Linked DNA regions of Homo sapiens: all the other regions are linked to region 1. The links are contacts of gene promoters, found by promoter capture Hi-C in blood cells and fetal thymus (Javierre and others, 2016). All regions are on one chromosome and are shown on one strand. Each heading gives the region's core, a stretch centred on a gene start or on the middle of the fragment in contact. The rest is flanking DNA. Distances are from core to core; before and after follow the strand shown. Region 1 holds the start of PTPRK (protein tyrosine phosphatase receptor type K). Region 2 overlaps PTPRK (protein tyrosine phosphatase receptor type K). Region 3 overlaps PTPRK (protein tyrosine phosphatase receptor type K).

Region 1 (4,444 bases), core at 1,432-3,931:
ACCATCCCTCTCCAGAACAGTTTTATCTTTCTAAACTGAAACTCTGTATTGTCTTCTGATGATTTTACCCAACATTTGATCATAAGCATTTTTCCATCTTGCAATTTACTTTTTTCATAACTTTCATTTCTAGTGGCTATGAGATATTCTACCATATAATGCTTATGAATCTGCCTATTGTAGAATATTTATATTCTTTCTCTTTTGAAATGATAAACATATTAAATAACATTTTTCATATTTTGGATTATTTACTTGCAATAGCTTCTAGACTAAAGAATAGGAAGATTTTAGTGATTTTTAATGCAGGCTGATGATTTCTTTTCCTAAAAGTTTAACCAAATTTATACTTCTATTGATTCATGTATTCATTTATTCTTTCAAACAAACAAAAATCTACTAATTCCTAATATTTGCCACGCACTTAGCTATGTAGAAGACCCACCAGATTTCTACTCAAGTGATTTCAATCCATACTGGTCGCATTAGTTATGCACAAAAGGAATAATGTACTTACCTAAAAGTTTTATTGCATGCTTTTGATTTTTAGTGAGAAACCATCTGTGTTGGTTTGCTGATTTCTTTTGAGAATTTCCTTTCTTCTCTTTGCATCGCCTCCCCCACTTCTCACTTAAGTATGTGTCTTTGGGTAAGTTACTTAATCTATAACCTTGTTTTCTTATTTGTCAAATGGGAATAATTGTACCAAAGTCTTCACGGAATTGTTGACTGAACTCAATGAAACACTGAAAATCTTGATGTCTCAGTGTGACATTGTATACTCTAAGACAGTGCCTAGAACATTTGAAGAACTTTCTAAACATTACCTGCTATTATTATTACTTCCATGATAGAGAAATTAATAAAGTTTCATGAAATGAATCTTCTATCAGCTGTCCCCCAAAATGGGCAAGGTAAGAATTGTGTGCACTTTGTCCTGGCACTGTGTGAAAATATTTAAAGAAGTTTTTTGTTTGTGTGTTTAAACAAACAAATTACCACGTCATGAACTTCTTTTACATTTCTTACAAGAGTAGAACAGATGAATTAGTATACAGACAGTAGGGTTTTGTTTGTTTTTACTGGGAAAAATTGCTGCTAAATTTTAGGAAGTTCTGCTGTCCTCAAAAAGAAAAATATGTCCCTCAGTTTTTTGTTACCTGGGATCTAGGAATGTTCTCTAATTAAAGAAATGGAATGGTGATGGTGTGTTGAAAGGTATAGGTTAATGAGTTAAAAAAAAAAAATCTACATTGCACCCTAAGGAAGGATGAACTTAACTATGCTGAACTGAATTGACAAGGGTTGAGCTAGTCAGTGTGCTAATGAGCAGGCTACTATTCTCATAGAATTTTTAAAAGTCTTTTCTGCCTGATATGTATGTGTGTATAATATGTATTTATATATGTATATATTTGTGTGTATATTTATTACATTTTTGTTTCCACAGGCTCTGTCATAAGTCTGGTCATTAATAGCATATATTTGATTAAAAGAATATGTGGCTTGGTAAATTATGTGAATGTTATATTAAAATGAATTTCACATTGTCTTGATTTACAAAGGCTAAGATGTCTGAGAAACTGAGAGATGTCAATCAACAGACTATTGTTTTAGCAATTGTACATAACACATAAAAATTCTGAATCAAAGTTATTATGTTATTCAATTGTGACCATACCTATTTTTTGTGACATTTTACAAAAATGAATAAAGTATGCACCATACAGTCTTACCACAGAAGTAAGGCAGGGTGGCATATGGCGAAACCACTTCAAGCTGCTGAAGTAGTTAACTGTGAAATATTTTACTGTCATAATATAGCATTATTTTCTGCCAGATGAATCATTCCGAAGAAGCTGTTTTCATGGTCAGTGTAAAAGTCCTTTTGTTAAATACTTATGTCTTAACTACCTACTAGATATTAAAAAAAACAAAACCACACACACACCAGACCTAGGTGCAAGGAAGGGATAATAAGCCCTGATGCAGTTCTTAGGTGAGAACTGGAAAGGGGCCGGAGGGTTTCAGAGCAACAAGCAAAGTCAGTGAAGCAGAGTAAATCCAAATACTTGGCCAATGACAAATAAACCAGAAAGGAGACACGCCAGCTGTTCACGCTGGAAAGTTACTGATCGTTTATTCTGGTTCAAGTTTTATTTATTCTATGAATAAGGGACAAGTTTTCGATGGGGGTGGGGTGTCTTATTCCTTATTACAAGAATAAGGAACGGGGAGTTTTCAAGGCAGGCGGGTGTTTCCTCAGGGCGCTTCCACACTCCCCTTTCAATCAGCAACCGCTCGGGGGGACCTCCACCTTGGGACGGAACCCCAGGACGCCTCTCCTCGGACGGCGGGGGTTTCTCTGCGCGCGTCCTCGGTCGTCTGGTCGCACGGCTTACCGAACTCTCGCCTCTCAAATTCTGAGTTCTGGAACAGGGCAGCGAGCTGCGCCGGCTCCCCTTTCTCGCTCGCTCCCTCCGAGCAGCGGCTGGCGGCGGGGCCCAGGCTGCGAACAAAGGCGGCGCGGGGCGCGCGGCCGGGGCTGGCGCGCGTCTCTCCGGCAGGAGGCGGTGGCGGCGCCGCGCCCGAGCCCGCATTCCTCAGAAGCGCCCGGAGCCCGCGGGGCGACGTCACCCCCGGCTCCGCCCCCGTCCCTCCCCGAGCAAAGTAACTCTTGACTAACAGGAGCAGCCTCCGCCGAGCATGGAGAGCTGCCGCCGCGGCCGGCCGGCGACGCTGGCGACGCTTTCGCCCCTGAGGTAGTTTGGCGACCGCGAAGAAGGAAAAAGGGCGGGCGGGCGGCTGTCCTCTCACCGTCCTCACCCCGCGAGGCCCGGCCCGCTCCTCCGTCGTGGATTTCGCGGCGATCCCCCCGGCAGCTCTTTGCAAAGCTGCTTGAAACTTCTCCCAAACTCGGCATGGATACGACTGCGGCGGCGGCGCTGCCTGCTTTTGTGGCGCTCTTGCTCCTCTCTCCTTGGCCTCTCCTGGGATCGGCCCAAGGCCAGTTCTCCGCAGGTGAGTGGCCGGGGGGCGTCCCCGACGAACGCCTGGAGTCCTGGGCTCACGAGGGGTGAGCCAGGTCCCCGCTAGGGCTGGGGACAAGGATCGTGGGGAGCTCTCTCTGTCCGGGGGTGGGGAACACAGGGTAGAGGGAGGGCTGTCCCCAGAGTTCGTGCCAGGTGGGACGCGGGGCACCCATTGTTCCTCTCCGAAGCTTGCTCGGGGCTCAGGCTGGCACGGTCTAGCCGGAGAGTGTGGGGACCTGCTGGCTTCGGCGTCTCGCGTGGCCTGCGCCGGGCTAGTGGGGAAGAGAGAAAGAAAAAGTAGTTACGACTCCCGTGACGGCACTCTGTTGCTTGTGGTGCGGGTTTGTTGCTGTCTGCCACTTGGGTGTTTAAACAAATTCCCTGGGAAGCCATTGTCAGAAATGTGGAGATTCGAAGGGACTGACCTCGGCGCGCTTTGCCAGGTGCTTTTTGTCCCGGGAATAACCTCCCCTGACTATTGTCTAACTACTTCCCCGTCCCTCCCGGAGTCCCCTTTTCTCCTCCCCCAGCTCTGGGTTGCTCCCGGGCTTGCCCTGTGCGCTCGGGCACTGCTTGGAGCATGTTCTGTGTGTGTGTTGGCGGAGCCCTGTAAGATGTGTTGAAATGCGGTTCTAAGGACCCACTCTGAGCGTTCATGGGCATCGAGGTCTGGGCGCCTGGTGGAGGAAGCCTGACTCGCGCGTGGGAGCCCGCTCCTCGGGCAAAACCACCGCCAGGCTGGCCCCGCGCTCCCCGGATCCGGCCTGGGGCTCTGGCCCCGCGCTCCCCGGATCCGGCCTGGGGCTGGAAGCGGACTGTAAATGTCTGCCTTCTGCCGGAGAACCCAAAAGGAGACAAGTGGAGCGTCTCGCTGTAGCCCTGGGGGTTCTCGGTCAAGCCGCTCAGAGAAGTCCGTGAACCCTGGCTCTCCCGGTCCCGCCCTCTGTTCCCCTCCAGTTTTGTTATCCTTCGTGTAGGTTGGTTGCTTCTTTCGTTCTCTCCTCTGGGGGCTCTGAAGTTTCACCAGGTGGACGCTGGGGAGCGGGCTCCCGAGCACTTGTCTACCTCCCGCCAGTCCTGACAACTTTTCTGGCCAACCTACCCAGCTTCGCTTGGCTGGCGAGCGCATCTGCTGCTGGGGTTCGCGGTGCAGATGGAGACGCAGTGGTGGCCAGAGGGTGATGGAGAAGACGGGAAAAGCGACAGCCACGCTCCTGGCTGAAGCCGCAGGACGCAAATAACTTACTTTGTACCTGACAGTTTCTCACGTTGTTGTGGAGGCCCTGTTTCCTGGAAATAAACTCAAATTGTTGTTTTCTGGAGTAATCGTTTATTTCCCTTCCATTGCTCTCCTACCCCCGCCCCATTTAGAACTCTGTAAAGGGAGTTAAACAACAGATTCAGGTGGCAGC
Region 2 (4,444 bases), core at 534-3,033, 470 kb after region 1:
AAATAGAGAAAGATGGATGAGAAACCAGGTATTTACATAGTTTCAAAGTAGCTCCCAAAAACTTAATAATTATAAAAGGGTACAGATTAACCTCACATTGGAAGAGCCTAGCAGATGCTTTGACCAAATGATGAAGGTGAACAGTATCCATGTTGGGAAAGACATTATGGTTTCCCACTAGGATGCAAGAAAAGCACAGCATCACTTTTGTGATATTCCAACCAAAGATGTATATCCTTAATCTAAACATTTAAAATATCAGACAAATCCAAATTGAGGATATTCTACAACATAACTGAGCTATAATTTTCAAAAACGTAAGGCCTTGAAAGTGAAGGGAAGGCTGGACTGCGCAGGCTGAAGGGGACCAAAGAGATATAGCAACTAAATATAACTAATTAGATCATTTAGATACAAAGAACATCATTAGGACAATTGGGAATTTTGAATGGGATCTGAAGTTTAGACAGTAGTTAATTTTCTTAAGTTTGAACGTCATTTTGTGATCTATAGGAAAATGTCCTTGTTTATGGGAAATACTAAAGTATTCTGGATAATGGAGGCATCAGGGCAGTCACTTACTCTTCATGCTTAGTAAAGTGAAAACAAGGGAGTAGTGTATTTGCAAATTTTCTGTAACTTTGTGTGTTTTTCCAACATATAAGTGAATTTTAAAGCTGTTATACTAAAATATGGGGAGCAGATGAGTGATTACATTAAAGAATAAGAAATAAGGATATGGAGGATATGATGGTGGAGTACAAGTTAACATGTCTTGGTGTGTATCTGCTGTGAACAAGGAAGCTGAAGACTTAAATATGATGCTGAACTTCTGTCCTGAGCCAACCACACTAGGAAGATGTGATGTCAGTCACAGAGACAGAAAACACTAGAAACAAAGGCTGAGATTAAAAAAAAAATGATTTATGCCATTTTGGAAAAGCCAAGTGTAGGGTACCAAAAAATAGCTAACATAAATGTAATTGGAAAAACTAGAAATAAAAGTGTGGAGAATGTCTGGAACTAGAGAACTTAGAACTTGGGAGTGGTAAAAACATATGAACAAGATAATATAGAAAGATGAGGAGAGCTCCTTGCAGGATACCCATCTTGAGACAGTAGGAGGAAGAAAGTGAGGTAGGAGAGAAGCTAGAATAGAAGCAACCGGATCGAAAGATGCATAACCAGTGGAGTGCCTTGTCACAACACTGACGAAAGGAAGATATACCAAGAAGGGGCTTATAAACGATAGTTAATATTTTAAGCAGCATGGAAAGCTCAAATAAAATAGGATGAGAAGAGGCAACTGGGTTTGCAAACTGGGATGTCTATGGTTGAGTTTAGAAAAGGGAGCATTCAATTAGAGTGACTGGGCAAAAAGATAGCGAATAGAAGCAAGACTTTAGCATGAACTGGAGCTGAGAAAATAAAGTGGTTGGGGAGACTTTCTTTTCCAGAAATACATTACTGATAAAAAGGAGATTGCTAGGACTTTAATTTAGGAAAGAATTATTAAGCATGGTAGAGACTGGAGCATATTTTATTTATCAGAGGAAACCTACCAATGGAGCAAAAAATATTGAATATATATAAGAAAGAATACATTTCTAGAGGAAGTAGGCAGTGATATAATTGAACAAATGCAGAAACATATCTTTTAAAACAATAGGGAATAATTGAACCTGTGAGGGCAAATGGACAAGTGACACCAACAGAAAAAATTGAGAAGTGTATTAGATTATCCATTTAAACAAATTAAATGAAGTCCTGTGCAGAGAGTACAAGTATCAGATGTGGAACAAGAGACCAGGAAATTTTTAAAAGTTTGAAAATTCTTGAAGAACAATGTGAAAGAATTTAAATCTAAGAACAATTAGCATACATACTGAAATAACATCATTTTGAAAATTTTTCAGCGTGTAAAAATCATTCTAAAAAATTCCTAGTATCGGCTGTATGCCATGACTCGTGCCTGTAATCCCAACACTTTGGGAGGCAGAGGAAGGAGGATTGCTTGAGCCCAGGAGTTCAAGATCAGCCTGGGCAATATAACAAGACCTATTTCTATAAAAACTTAAACTAAAAATTAAAAATGCTTAGTGTAATAGTTTGTTTCCTGCCTTGTATCTCTGGTGGCAGCCAGCACATAAAGAGAATAAAGACCTTGGCTTGACTATTAAACATATGAATTAAATAATCAGCATCATAATGTTTAAAATAAATAGTCATGTGGTTACATATTATGATGCAAGAGAAGAGATATCCTGGGAGTTATGTTCATTGCAGTTGAGACAAATAAAGTCACTGAGAAGATATGCTTCAAGAATGGAGTGGAAGAGTTTATCTCAATTGTACTAGAAATCAAGAAAGGCTTTCCATTTATAAAATAGCCTATTCAAAACCAGAATTGTTCTAAAATATGAAACGGAATTTGGTTAGCTGTATATTTGAAAGCAAAAAGGAGAATACGTCTCAAGGAAGGTGTCTGTGATACATTAAGAACATGGAGCAACACTAGAGAGTCACTTGTACAATGAGACAGGATCATTGTGCAACTTGCATGCTCACTGTCTTTAGGTTCAGTTCTCTCTACTGAAAAAATACTGTTTGAGATTGTTTGATATTGATTTGCTCTATCTATTTTTTTTTTTCTTGAGGCGGAATTTCACTGTTGTTGCCCAGGCTGGAGTTCAATGGCGTGATCTCCGCTCACCACAACCTCCACCTCCTGGGTTCAAGCAATTCTCCTGCCTCGGCCTCTGAAGTAGCTGGGATTACAGGCATGCGCCACCATGCCCTGCTAATTTTGTATTTTTAGTAGAGATGGCGTTTCTCCGGGTTGGTCAGGCTGGTCTTGAACTCCCGACCTCAGGTGCTCCACCCGCTTTGGCCTCCCAAAGTGCTGGGATTACAGGCGTGAGCCACCGCACCTGGCCTATCTTTGTATATGTAATTTATAAAGTGCCCTAATTCATTATACCCTCATGCACGCACACAAGTATTTGTAAATTAGCAGCTAAGAATTTTGTGCCATGATGCCATCAAGAATTTATACTGCGATTATTTGTTTCTTAAGGAAACTATCGTAACAAGTAACATTTTTATGGTTAGATTTAAATGTGCTGAATCATGCAAATATATAAATTATATTAAAATTTACTTAAAGAATCTTTAAAAGTATTTCACTAGAAATATGCTTTATCCATATTAAACTAACAAAAGAGGCATTTCAATTGAATTTTTATTTTATATTATTTAATAATATTTAGCATATTATGTCATTTAAAATTTTCTCAATATGTAAATAGTTATTTGTGGAACCATGTACTTGTTTACATAAAATTATTCTTAAAGTAAAGCAAGCGGGCATTGATAAGAAATCAAGATGCTGAATAATCCTTAGACTAAAACTAAGAAACAAAACCAATGGTATGGGAAATTGCAAGTATTGTAATCTGTTTATGTAAGTAGTTTATATTTTGAAACTACTTTGGTTGTATCTAATTTTCCCATCCTGTGAACTTCTGGATTTTTTAGAACAAACCTTGTTACTTAGCATTTAGTTTTGGCAGAAGTTTGTATGTTAGTCAAATCTATTTCTTAAAAAACCTGACATTTCCATAGATAAAAGCTATGAAATCTGATAGAATGGAAAAATTTCTAATATAGGTAAATTTATTTGAACATAGTATTTATGGTGAAAGAGGTTTTTTTTAATTTAATAATGTTTCTTGTCTATTCATGAGCCATTTTTTGATTTCTGATTTCATTTGGATATCAATATTTCTATAGCAAATATTTATTTTATGTCCATAGTATACCAGACAGTGTTGTAGGCCCTGGGGATAGAAAAGTGAATAGAGTAAAGCCTTTGCTTTTATGGAACTTAAATTCTAGTTGAAGGAAATAGACCAAACACAAACAAATAAGTACAGTCATTCCTTAGTATCCAAGGAGGACTGGTCCCGGGACCCCGAGGATACCAAAATCAGTTATGCTCAAGTCCCTGATATGAAAAGGCATAGTGTTTGCCTGTAACCTATGTACATCCTTCTGTATACTTAATCTCTAGATTACTTATAATACCAAATACAGTGTAAGTCTGTGGTTGTTTGACTCTTCGGATGCAGAACCCATGAATGCAGAGGGCTGACTGTATGTGGCATGGCAAATGGTGATAAATCCTTTGAAGAAAAATAAAGGGTCTGGGGATAGGAAATACTGGAAGAATGTGTCTAGGGCATTACTACTTTATATACAGTTATCAGAGAAAGTCTCGCTGGTGAGGTAATGTTTCAGCAGAAACCTGAAGGGAATGAGGGCATCACCCATGTAGGGCAGGAGCATTAGAGGCAGAGGGAACATATGCGGAACCTTGAGGAGAATTTTTCCTTATCTGCTCAGAGAAGGTGGGTCAAATCCAGGGGATGAGCTAGAATGTTCT
Region 3 (4,444 bases), core at 1,364-3,863, 260 kb after region 1:
CTGATTTTCCAAAGCAACTGAGAGTTTAGTTGGTTTTGGAGACAGTGTCTGTCATTCTCTCCCTCTCCCTCCTTCTTTGCCTTGCCCCCTCCATAGCTCTGTAGTTGGGTCTAGTTTAGGGCTTACCTATATGAAAGATTAAGTAAACACTCTGTTCTTTTCTTTGGGAAGTTAGTGTTGTTTTAGTATGTGGGGAGTCGAACACTCTTTAAAATAACTCATTTCTAGAAAACAAAAAGGCCAAAAATTTAGGATAAGATAACAGATATTGAAGATCAATGATTACATATTAAGTCTGTCAGTGTGATTCTCTTGAGATAAAAAATCCTTTTTTAAGAGAGTATAGTGCATAATATATTTTTGCTTCTATGAACTTATTTGGTTTCAATAATTTAATATTGAGGCTGTCTCACATTTTAAACCTAGGGAGAAAACAGGTTGGAAACTACATAAAATTGGTGTATCAACAGTTTTGAGTTGCAGTTTAACTTTCACTATGCTGCTTAATTTGTCATCCATAAAATTGGGATGAATCCAAACCTGGAAAGTAATATTTGACTGTAATACCAAGCCATACAGCATTGCCTGATCCACATAAAGCACACTTGATCAGTTTTGTCATTTGCACATGTGGAGAGTTTTCTCAGGCTGAGTAACTCCTGGTATTGGATTCTAGGCATAATCATGTCATTCTTGCTTGTTGGTGCCATGAAATAATTAGCCCACCATGTAAGGGCCCAACTTGATGCTGTGCTTAAGAGTAGAGCCTATATTCTTGATTCTTGTGGAATTTGTGTCTTATATGAAAGTTTGCTTGACCCACCAGTTGCTTCTTTTTGCTTTTAACTGTTAATATAGCTCCAAAAGCTATTGCCCAAATTTGTCAAAATTCATATTTAAAAGTTCTGCTGTTCAATGAGCTAGTCACTAGCCAGATGCAATTATTAAAATTAAAATTAAAAATGTATTTATTCATTTGCACTATCCACATTTTAAGTGCTTGATGCCTGCAGGTGGCTGGTTAGTGGCTACTATGTAGACAGATACAGAACATTTTTCTTGTGGCAGACAATTTTGCTGGACAGTTTTGCTCTAGACTGAAGCTCTGCACACAGTACTTCCCCTGTAATAACTATAGACATCTGGCTAGTTTTTACTGTGTTACAAACATTTTGCTAATTCAAGTTTGGAGACAATGGATTTCATAAAGAAATTATAATAAAATATACCTGTCAATGTACAATGTAGTGTTTCACCATATTATGTAATAAAATATCTTAAGTGCTAGTTTGGAAAATTTGCTGTTTTTTGTTATAGTGTTTTTAACATCTTTTGCCCTCTAGAACATTATTCTCAAATTTTAAATCCATATAACTATTGAAAAATCTGTATAAGTATTGATTTCTGCTTTTACATCTTTAATCATATGAACCAAAAGAAATACAACAATGAATCATCTAATATGTTTGAACAAAAATTGATGGGTTTTTCTTTTTTGAAAGTTTTATTTGGAGCACTGAGCTTGGAATATAAAATAAATAAAGACAACATGGAATTTAAATTTGGATGGGTAAAATAGAAAATGAAGTTTAGAGGCTTGATAGATTGACAGATCAAGAGGGGTAAAACAGAAACTATTGCTATATAAGCTCAGGATGAAATACTAAGTAGAGACCTCAGCCTATACATAAAAAGAGATGGAAAAACTAAGAAAATGCATGTTTGTTTTGCAATTTAAATTTTTATTTTCAGATCTTAGAGGACAACTATATCATTAAATGTTAAGCTTGCTAAAGCAGTATTTTTTAGGTGTCTTTAAAGTAACTTACTACAACTTCCTATATTTTTGCAGCATCTTCTAATGTACATGAAAGTTCAGTGAATGTACATGAAAGTTCAGGGACCACATGCTTAAATACTGGAGTTGAACGGAGAACTAAGCTTGTTTTGAAATAATTTTTGTTGTCCCTGCTTCCAAATTTGTTGTGGTAGTGGTTATATGAGTCTTTTATTTATTAGGAGATTAGGAAACTGCTTTCATAAATGGACATTATACAAGCATCTTCAAGAAACATGTTTCGCTTCTCCAGCTCCAATTAGAAAAGCGGTAATCTCCATCCCAGCCTTCTGGATGGCTGGCCTCTCTTCCTAACTTTCTTACCCGAATACCTCTTTATAGGAGGCTTACTACATGCCATTTGCTATGCTAGATATTGTGGGTAGCAATGATAAAGGCCATCTTCTCTATTTTATTTTTGGGCATCCTCAGGGTTAATGCCGTCATCTTTTCCTTCAACAACTGCAGTGGTCTCCTTAACATTGTCTCTGCTTCTGGATCTTGGTCTCCCACAAACCACTTCTCACAGTCATCAAAACAAACTTCTTCAGATCATAATTCAGATTATGTCACTCCTCTGCTATAAGCCTGTTCTGTTACATTTAGAATGAAATCCAATCTTTTAAAAAATAGAATAAAAAAAAATATATTTTAGGAAGCCATGTCATCAGAAGTGTAATCCAGAGAATAATATACTCTATAGGTCTAAAAAAAGATTTTCTAAATTATGCAATTATATTTTGATAAATACTTATAAATATTCAAATACAGACATCAGTAAAATGAAAAGTGAAACTCATTTCACCCATTTCATTCAATTTCTCCCCCAAGATGACTACTGTTAATTGGGTCTATATAGTTTAAGGCCTTTCCTATGAAATTACGTCCATGTTGTACGTTTGCTTTACATATGTTATGGACTGGAAAATGAAAGCAGTTGTGTGGAAGGGTTCTTATGTTACAGAAGGAAGTCACATTTTTTTAGTTTCCTTTTAACTTTCTTTAAATGAAAAGGAAAGAATGTTTTAAGTTATATCTTCAACTGCTAGAAAGGTAGTATACTTAGAATTTTTATGGCCCTTTCCTAGGGATTTATGATTTTCACATAAAAGAATGAAAATTGAACACACACTGAATTATACTTCTAAAACATACTTGAAATTTTTTGCCTCTCTCTATTCGTGTTACTTAACCAGTGCAAACTTACTGTAAGTAACGAAATCATTGAAGAAATACACAGAAAATGAAAGTAATCCATAATCTCACCTTCTGCTTTCTAGAGATGACTCCTAATATTTTGACAGGTGGCACATACATATGCATGTATGTATGTGCATATATGTACATTATATATGTGTGTGTGCATGTGCATATTAAACTTGATATTCAGTGGAATCATAATACATAATGTTTTGGTTTCCTTAATTAGGTTATTGTGAAAAGCTTTCCTCTTCATATTCTATTTTTAAGCAACCTGTCCCAATCTGACAATTTCTCACTCTTAGTTTAGTGGTTTTGAGCTGTGGCATACTGGTGTTCCCTGACAGTGGTATTGCAGGTGTTGAAAAATTTGTAGTGTGATAACCTAGCCTATAGGGTGGAGCCTGGAACTATGACAGTTGTCTTTTTACTTCAAGGTGCCACACAGTTGTTGTCATCTCCTGTTTGTTTTTCATAATATAAAAGCATTTGGGAAGCACTGCTAAAAATCCATGCTTTCCCTGTCTCCCTCCTCAAACATGGACCTCCCCACACTTCTCCCAGCTTCCCTTATTACCTCTCTGAGGCTCTTCTCCTCACAGCAGACTGATCTTTTAAAAACACATGTCAGATATCAGGAACTTAGGAATTCTACCCCATATCCTCCACTGGCTTCTCAATGGAGTCAATAAAATCCAAATCCAGTTATTGGCTAGCTCCACGTTAAATTGTCTTCTGCTCTCTGCCTCCCTCATTCAGCTTTCTGATCGTGGAATGCTCCAAGATCATTCGTATCTCAAAGTCTTTGTGCCTGTCATTCCCTCCGCCTGGAATGGCATTACCTCCATCTTCCCATTCTGGTCTCTACTCATATTTTGCCTTCTCAGAGGCTGACCTAATTACCCCGTCTCTACCCTTCTGTTCGTTAACTCCTTTGCCTCCTTGCCTTAGCACTTTGGTCACTGTTCCATATGCTTGTTTAGTGTCTTTCTTCCATACTAGCCTGTTTTCCATGAAGACATCAACTTTGTTTTATGTTTTTCATCTCTTGTACATATCAGGTGCTCGAGAAATAATTATCTAATGAAAAAGTACATATACAATGAAAAAAGTACATAGCGAAACTAACATTTTTATTCAGTATTTGTTTCCTTTATTTCATTTTCCCAGTGCCTTGGATTTTTCTGGTCAGTTATCTCTAGTGTTAGCATGAGCACTTCAGGAAGAGGTAAGGGAGAGATATTAGCCAGTTAAACCATGCATGATTACTCTGTGATATCAGTTTTATGTAACATATTTTGATCTTTTTAACATAGTCAAATGGATGTTGTAACACTTGCTTGATTTAACATTATATTTTGGTCTTTATTATAGAAATTTTAAGGAATTTCACATAATCACTATTTT

Evidence for each region. The method cuts DNA at HindIII sites, captures the fragments that hold promoters and counts their contacts. A CHiCAGO score of 5 or more calls a contact.
Region 2: a contact is called between a fragment that was not itself captured here and the fragment with the promoter of PTPRK in region 1, in 1 of 17 cell types (fetal thymus). The highest score is 5.1, in fetal thymus.
Region 3: a fragment that was not itself captured here is called in contact with the fragment with the promoter of PTPRK in region 1 in 1 of 17 cell types (fetal thymus); the score reaches 5.9 in fetal thymus.

The regions. Positions count from the first base shown.
Region 1 is chr6:128,518,836-128,523,279 of GRCh38, reverse strand. PTPRK (protein tyrosine phosphatase receptor type K) reads left to right here and starts at 2,681. Exons shown (of 30, transcript NM_002844.4): 1 at 2,681-3,021. The coding sequence starts at 2,922. RefSeq lists enhancers at 2,319-2,913, 2,914-3,507. The HindIII fragment of the contact is 3,706 bases long and covers 1-3,222 here.
Region 2 is chr6:128,048,347-128,052,790 of GRCh38, reverse strand. The region is part of intron 13 of PTPRK (protein tyrosine phosphatase receptor type K); the gene reads left to right. All of the region lies in intron 1 of PTPRK-AS1 (PTPRK antisense RNA 1), which reads right to left. Among named protein-coding and RNA genes, the nearest start is that of PTPRK-AS1, 23 kb to the right of the region's middle. The HindIII fragment of the contact is 5,375 bases long and covers 1-4,444 here.
Region 3 is chr6:128,258,220-128,262,663 of GRCh38, reverse strand. The region is part of intron 3 of PTPRK (protein tyrosine phosphatase receptor type K); the gene reads left to right. Among named protein-coding and RNA genes, the nearest start is that of PTPRK-AS1, 230 kb to the right of the region's middle. The HindIII fragment of the contact is 1,339 bases long and covers 1,944-3,282 here.